Regions from separate parts of the Homo sapiens genome. Here region 2 is linked to region 1. Evidence: promoter capture Hi-C in 16 types of primary human blood cells and fetal thymus (Javierre and others, 2016). All regions are on one chromosome and are shown on one strand. The core of a region is centred on a gene start or on the middle of the fragment in contact, and the rest is flanking DNA. Distances in the headings are between cores, read along the strand shown.

Region 1 (4,095 bases), core at 1,076-3,575:
GGGCAGGGCACACATTCATCTTTGTAGGAAGGTCTGGCCTGGGGTCGGGTGAAGGAGGGCCCAGGTCAGTTCTGGGGTCCCAGTGACCTGCTTTGCCATTCTCCTGGTGCCGCTGCTGCTCCCTGTTTCTGGAGCTGGATGTTCCCCAGCTGGCAGTTGAGCTGCCTGAGCCAATGTGTCTGTCTTTGGTAACTGAGTGAACCATAATAAAGGGGAACATTTGGCCCTGTGTGTTCTGCTGTGTCATGTGTCTTCCTGTGGACTTGCGTGGAGCCTCACAGCGGGCTGTGGGGCAGGGGCATGAAAGTATGGGGGGTGGGTGGATCTGTGGTCTGTCATTCCCCGAGACCTAGAGCTATACGACCCTGTGTGGCTCCTTCTCTGAGGCAGCCTTCAGTAGGTGATGAAATTGCCACCTAGGCCCCCTGCCTTGGGAGGAGGAAGTAGAAGAAGCAGGCTGGATCGGCCGGGCGTGGTGGCTCACACCTGTAATCCTAGCACTTTGGGAGGCTGAGGCGGGTGGATCACGAGGTCAGGAGATCGAGACCATCCTGGCTAACACGGTGAAACCCCATCTCTACTAAAAATACAAAAAATTAGGCGGGCGAGGTGGCAGGCACCTGTAGTCCCAGCTACTCGGGAGGCTGAGGCGGGAGAATGGCGTGAACACAGGAGGCGGAGCTTGCAGTGAGCCGAGATCGCACCACTGCACTCCAGCCTGGGCGACACAGCAAGACTCCATCTCAAAAAAAAAAGACACGGCTGGATCCCTGCGTAAGGGATGGTTTGGCCCAGATGGTCCACTGCGGCTAAGGGCGGGGGTAGAGCAGAGGCCCCACCTCAGCTCAGGGCAGGGGACCCGCAGCTGGTTCAGCCACCTCAATGAATACAGAGGTTCCTGGGGCCTGTGAAGGCTAGAAAATGAAGGGGGCAGGGAAGCATGCCAGTGTGTGTTCTTCTGCCGCCTTCCCTTTGCCCATTTGATGCCTTCCACCTGGATCGCTATTGGGATCCTCTATCTAACCTCCTGGCTGTCCTTCAAGATTCATTTCAAGTCACTCCTTCAAGAAGGCTTTCCTGCCTAGAGGTGTTGCTTCCTCATGGAGGATCTTACCCTGTCATTTTCTGTGTCCCTGTTTGTCTCAAGAACAGGGACGCATCTGATTTATCTCTGTATCCTGTGCACCTAAAATAGAAGAGGCTTGGTAAATATTAAGTGCCACGAGCCCTCTTTTACTAAGGACCTGCCAACATGGGCCCCATTCACACTAATACCATGAAGATAGCCCTTTTCTATACTTCGTCATAAAAAAGTAATACACACACCCGGGCAGCAACTTCCACACAAACAACACATGTGCAAGGAGATCACCATTATTTCCAGCAAAATGCTCCCCAGGGCCGAGCGTGGTGGCTCACTCCTGTAGTCCCAGCACTTTGGGAGGCCAAGGTGGGCGGATTGTTTGAGCCTAGGAGTTTGAGACCAGCCTGGGCAATAGAGTGAGAACCCGTCTCTACAAAAAATACAAACATTAGTCTGGCATGATGGTGCACTCCTGTAGTCCTGGCTACTCCATAGGCTGAGATAGGAGGATGGCTTAAGCCCAAAAGGTGGAGGTTGCAGTGAGTGGAGATAGCACCACTGCGCACTCCAGTCTGGGTGACAGAGCCAGACCCTGTCTCAAAAAAAAAAAAAAAAACAAAAAAAAAAACAGCTCCCCAACAAGATAGCAGGCTACAACATGCATGTGATGAAGCTGATTTGAAGCGCTCAGTGAGAGGTATCTGCATCAAGTTGCAGGAGGAGAAGAGAGAAAGGAGAGATAATCATGTTCCTGAGGTCTCAGCCCTGGATCAGGAAATCATTGAAGTATTAACATATCCTGACATTAAGGAAATGCTGATGTTTTTGGACTTTGGCAGTCTGTCCAACCTGCAGGTCACTCAGCCAACAGTGGGGATGAATTTCAAAACGCCACGTGGAAGCTGTTTGAATCTTTTTGAGATACTGTAATATTTTCAATAAACCTGGGACAACAGCAAAAAAAAAAAAAAAAAAAAAAAGGCCCCAAGCAACAAGCAGTGTGTGTGGGGCTGATAGGAGTGAGGAAAGGAGGTCGGACAGTTATGCCAGCCCCTATCGAGAGTCCCAGCAATACAAAGAACAGGGCCAGGGTTTGCTCCAGGATTTCCCCAGTGGACTACAACTCCCGGAAGGCAGAGAAGTGGACTACAGCTCCCAGAAGGCTGCGCGACATACAGCCAGCCCGGTGCTCTCGTGAGGCGTGCCAGTCAGATTCCGCGGGAGAGCGGCAGAGATACCGCGATATTTGGGAGCGGCCCCGAGACGCGCCTGGCGCGGGTGAGCAGTGGAAGGGGGCTGGGAAGCTGGGTTCTCGCGGCGGCGCGGGAGGGGAGGTTCGGGGAGCTGTGTCCGCGAGCGTGGGTCCACGGCTGTCTGTGTGTGTCCTTATTTTCCCCTGTGTGCCCATGAAGCTCTGTTTGCGACTGTGCGTGGGTAGGCGGCCGTCCATCTGTGCGACCTCACTTTCCCGGCTGTACGGGTGGGGCCGCCTGGAGCAGGAGGGACCCCCGAGCCCTGAGTGGAGGGTTTGCATCTGTACCCGTCCAGCCCGACTTTGTGCTGCTCTGCGATTATTTGTCCAGTGTCGTTTAATCTAGTTTAAATGATGGCCGTGTCAGCTCCTCACACTGAACGCTTACCCGGGCTGCCCAAAGTACAAAGTGTATTTAAAAAGTTGGTAAAATTAAAAAAGGAAAGCCATGGGATGTTGGAAGTAGCCCTAGGCCTGCCAAAAAGTGCTGAGTGCTATTTAAAAATTAGGCCAAATCTTGTCAGAAAAGAACTTCCTGCTGTCCTTGAAGTATTTGGAAGCAGGTGCTAGATGGTGAGCAGGAGAGGTTGCCAAGTTGGGGAAGTGGTGGTTGTCCTGGAGCAGGGGTTTCCACATCTCTCACAGTGGCTGGGAAGTAGCAATTCGCAGTCACTGCCTTTCTAGTAGCCCACGTGTGTGAGTGTGTGTGTTAGATACATTTATCCCTCAGTATCCGCAGGGGATTGCTGTATACTTTTTTTTTTTGAGACAAGGTCTCATTCTGTGACCCAGGCTGGAGTGCAGTGGCAGGAACATGGCTCACTGCAGCCTCGACCTCCTGGGCTCAAGGGATCCTCCTGCCTCAGCCTCCTGTGTAGCTGGAACCACAGGCATAAACAACCATACCCGGCTAATTTTTATTTTATTTCATTTTTGTAGAGACAGGGTCTCACCATGTTGCCCAGGCTGGTCTCAAACTCCTGGCTCAAGCTATCCTCCTTCCTTGGCCTCTCAAAATGCTGGGATTACAGGTGTGAGCCACCACATCACCCTCCTGTATACTCTTTTTTCTTTTCTTTTTTTTTTTTTGAGTCAGGGTCTCACTCTTGTCTCCCAGGCTGGAGTGTAGTGGTGCAATCATAGCTCACTGCATCTTCGAACTCCCTGGGCTCAGATAATCCTCCCACCTCAGCCTCCCAGGTAGCTGGGACTGCAGGCACGTGCCACCACGCCCTCCATATAATTTAAATAATCTCTAGATTACTTATAAAACCTGATACAGTGTAAATGCTATGTAAATAGCTACACACTTTTTTTTTTTTGTGGTACTATTATTATATTTTGAAATGGTCTCTCTCTGTCACCCAGGCTGGAGTGCAGTGGCACAAACATGGCTCACTGCAGCCTTCTAGGCTCAAGCGATCCTCCTGCCTCAGCCTCCCAAGTAGTTGAGACCACAGGCATGTGCCACCACACCTCACTAACTTTTAAATTTTTTGTATGGGGTCTTGCTATGTTACCCAGGCTGGTCTCGAGTACCTGGGTTTGCTCAATCCTCCCACCTTGCCCTCTTAAATTGCTGGGATTACAGGTGTAAGCTGGAGCAGAAGCCTGGGCAGCCGGTAGTGAGGGGCTTTGATGTTAGGCTAAAGGATTCAGGCTCATAATGGATCTTGGATCCCTGCCTACCCACCACCCACTTCCCTTGTTTGGTTCTGCTTTGTCTTAGGCTCAGTTCTCATCCTTCCTGTATTGAGCT
Region 2 (4,095 bases), core at 924-3,423, 970 kb before region 1:
CACACCCAGATGGGACATTTCACTCACTGGGGCCCGGAGTAGACAACAAGCTTTCTATGTGGCAGCTCAGCGAAGCCCTGCTCCAGGGTCTCCTTCTGAGGCCTGAAGTCATTTAAAAATCTGCTTTGCCCCTAACCCCAACCTGGCTCTTAGCTCCAGCAGCTGTCACAGAGCCTGGTCAGGCTGTTTTCCCACCCTCTACTTCCCCTTGTCCTGGCCCATGTCCACCCTTCTCCCTGCCCATGTCCACCATTCTCCCTATCCCAGCCTCACTCTGACTCCTGGCCCCAACCCTGACCACTCTCCATGCCTCAGAGTCTCACCCTCAGCCTAGCCCTGCCAGCAGGCCCCATCTCCTCCTCTGACCTCAGCCTTGTCTCCGCCTCACACCCCAGGTGCCTCCAGCACCTAAGCCTAGAGTAAGGGGCTCCCTTCTCATCTTTCCTCACTCCTCACAATTAAGGAAACTCCATGGCTAGTGTGCATACCACCCGGGCTGGAATGCACCAAATGTCAAGTCAAAGGGGGTAGGACACAGGGAACCCTGCCTGGCGAGAAGGGGAGCTGAGCTAGGGCTGCTCCCGGACTCTGCCAGCAGAGGGCGCTGCAGCGCACCCCCCCTCCCCCCCCCCCCCCCCGCCACCCGGTGCCTGGCAACGGGCATGGGCCACGGTAGTGCTGGTGGTGCTGGTGGTTTAAGCTCAGGCAGCTCAGTCCTTTCTAAAGTGCTATGCGTGCTTCCTGTGGTATGGGAGATAACTGTAGATACGAGGCACGTGGAGAAACATTTTTTTAAAATGTTAAACCTTTTATATTTAGTTTAACATCTGTTAGAAACAATACAACCAGGCCATGCGCGGTGGCTCACACCTGTAATCCCAGCACTCACTTTGGGAGGCCGACGCGGGTGGTTCACTTGAGGTCAGGAGTTCGAGACCAGCCTGGCCAACATGGTGAAACCTGTCTCTACTAAAAATACAAAAATTTGCTGGGTGTGGTGGCCCGTGCCTGCAATCCCAGCTATTCGGGAAGCTCTGAAGCAGGAGAATTGCTTGAACCTGGGAAGAGGAGGTTGCAGTGAGCCGCGATTGTGCCACTGCACTCCAGCCTAGATGACAAGAGTGAAATTCCGTCTCAAAAAAAAAAAAAAAAAAAAAGGAAAAAGAAAAAAAGAAACAATACAACCAGCTCATCGAAAGTCTGATTTCTGGCCAGGTGTGATGGCTCACGCCTGTAATCCCAGCACTTTGGGAGGCCAAGGCAGGTGGATCATGAGGTCAGGAGATCAAGATCATCCTGGCTAACACAGTGAAACCCTCTCTCTACTAAAAATACAAAAAATTAACCGGGTGTGGTGGTGTGCACCTGTAGGCCCAGCTACTCGGGAGGCTGAGGCAGGAGAATTGTTTGAACCCGGGAGGCAGAGGCTGCAGTGAGCTGAGATTGTGCCACTGCACTCCAGCCTGGGCAACAGAGTGAGACACCATCTCAAAAAAAAAAAAAAATTGTGATTTCTGGGATCTAGTTGCTCAGAATGATGCTGAAGTGGAATTCTTTAAAGATCCACTTAGGACAAATAGTAAGTAACTCCACACTCGGAAGGGACACAGGTAGAGGAAAACTTATGACTGTGGAAGTGAATGGCCTGTTAATTTGGGGAAATACTGGGTTACCAGTGGACTTAGGGTGAGCTCCACAGCTAAGGATAGGGCCCAAGTTAGAACTGGGGTAAGGATGGGGTGGGCTTAGAATCGGGGTGAGGGTTAGAGCTAAAGTTCAGGGGAGGCCCCAGGTTAGGATTTGGGATTAGATCAGATGGAGGGGCACATTTGGTGCTTAAGGTTGAGAATAAACCTTAGGAATTAGGAATTGAGTTAGAATTGGGGTGAGTTAGGAATTTAGTTAGAAATGGAGTTAAAGTCACTCTTCAGGCCACAAGTCTTTGTGACTTTAGTAACTGAAAAGTCCATGGAACTGTGAACAGATGGGCAGGAGCTTCTCGACCCCCTAATAGGCACCCCAAGTTCAATCTGCCTTTTCCCCCAAATCCTCTTCTAGAAGCACCTGGCAGGGGCTCTGCCTGAGCTCACAACTCCAACAAGGTCAATGTACACCAATCGGATTGGAGGGACTGAGGAGTGGGCAATCCTGCCCAGGAGGGAGAGCATGGGACAACCAGGTAAGACAACTGGGTACCAGACACGATTTCACCATTTAGCACAAGTAACCTTTAATCTTCCCAACTGTCCTATGTGGTTACAGCCCATCTTCCTCCTACAGAGGAGCACAGCAGGGCAGCAAGGCTGAGTACCTCGTCAGGGTCATTAAACTTGTATGTGGCAGAGCTGGGATTTGCCTGCGGGGAGCCTGTGTCTAGACTGGCACCATCTGTGGCCTACATCATGGAGCGCATGGCCACGTGTTGGGGGACAGGCTGCCTGGTCTCTCCTTCTCTCCTTTCTGTGCTCTCCTGAGTTGTCAGTCTCAGGTGATGCAGAAGGCAGGTCTCTGGAAGCTACCCCCACCTTCTCATCCCTGTGCTTGAACTTTCATTTTAATTTTTTCATTTAGGGCAGTGTTTCTGGACCTTTTTATAATTATTATTATTGTCCTCTTAAGGAGCATTTTTAGCATCTTTTCCCAATTGTGCCTCCCTGTATGAAATTTTAATACCATAGATACACTGTACATTCCATAGGATTTTCTAGATACAAGATCGCATCATCTGCGAATAGAGATGGTTTTACTTCTTCCTTACATGGACATATGTATGGACTGTGAGCCTTTGGAGGGTCAGAAACCATGGTAATAGCCAAGATGGTCAACTGCCCTTCCTCCCCTGCCTTTTCATCCTCTGTGGGGTGATAATGCCTCTGTTGAGAATGCATGATTTAGGGTAAGGCCCCACCCCGTTACAATGTAGGTAAGAAGTGGTCACGGGAAGGAGTGGGTGGGATGCGGGCTGCACCTCTATGTGGGTGGAGACTAGGTGGGCCAGATGGAGGGAGATGGAAGGGAATGGAGATCCAGGTTTCTGAGAACACACTCGCCTGTAGTGGCCTTGGTCCTGGTCCCAGGCACAGGCACAGGCTGAGCCTGGGGCTAGGGGAGGAATGGGGCCAGTACCGTCACTTATTTTTGTCTCTGAATCCAGATGTCAGCTCCAGACCCGCTGGACCTGAATAAAGCAAATACCTGTGGAGACTCTGTTGAGAGAAGAGTCTAGAATTTCAACAGATTCTCCCCATACTAAAAGCAAACAAACAAAAACAAAATGAAACAACCAAACAAACAAAAACAAAAAACAGGAAGTTTGGACGTCTCTGTTCACCCTTACAAAATGCATTTGCTGTCAAGTGAGGGGAAAATTCCTTCATTCTTGGCTCAAGGAACTTCCTTAAACTAAGACCAGCTGCCTGGACTGTGCTAAATTCAGTTTATAAATATTATAAATATCCCAAACTTGATAGCCAAGCACATTACAAAAGCTAGCTAGCTAACCGCAGAAATTTTCCAAAATGCTAGCCAGTCAGACAAGTATGAGATATTGTGAAATCCTGTGTTGCTTGTCTGATTTCCTGAAATCATTCCTCTCAGACTGAGTGCAGAAGGCCTGGGGGTGGAATTCAGGAGCACTGACTATCTCCTACAGTTCTAGAGCCTTAAAGCCCTGGCCGACCCCAGGGTGGATTGATTGCACAGTAAGTCAGACCAACCAGCTGGGCGCAGTGGCTCATGCCTGTAATCCCAGCACTTTGGGAGGCCGAGGCAAGTGGACCTAGGGTCATGAAGAAGGTGGAGGCACTGAGGCCCTGAGTGATTTTATAAAGAACACCTTAGCAAATATCCAGCACTATGGGTTCACCTTCACTCAGGACCCACAAAGCCCCACGTTCTGACAGATTTTGTTTATCAGACAAATTGCACTTAGTCATGCTTCATTCATTTTTCTCGGAGACTTCCCAGGTTACATAGACCTGAGATAATCTCCCCATCTCGCCGTCACCCCCCACGAAGTCACTCCATGTTTCTGTTTGCAATACAGTCTTACATGGATCAATATTAGATTTTCATGGTGCTCTTTGCATTTTGCAA

Evidence for each region. Contacts are between HindIII fragments. The CHiCAGO score rates a contact against its expected background, and 5 or more counts as called.
Region 2: a contact is called between a fragment that was not itself captured here and the fragment with the promoter of PPCDC in region 1, in 1 of 17 cell types (total CD4 T cells). The highest score is 7.9, in total CD4 T cells.

The regions. Positions count from the first base shown.
Region 1 is chr15:75,021,265-75,025,359 of GRCh38, forward strand. PPCDC (phosphopantothenoylcysteine decarboxylase) reads left to right here and starts at 2,326. Exons shown (of 6, transcript NM_021823.5): 1 at 2,326-2,362. It overlaps SCAMP5 (secretory carrier membrane protein 5), which reads left to right. Exons shown (of 7, transcript NM_138967.4): 7 at 1-231. The HindIII fragment of the contact is 7,713 bases long and covers 1-4,095 here.
Region 2 is chr15:74,047,965-74,052,059 of GRCh38, forward strand. No RefSeq gene overlaps it. Among named protein-coding and RNA genes, the nearest start is that of GOLGA6A, 33 kb to the right of the region's middle. RefSeq lists an enhancer at 314-523. The HindIII fragment of the contact is 4,250 bases long and covers 49-4,095 here.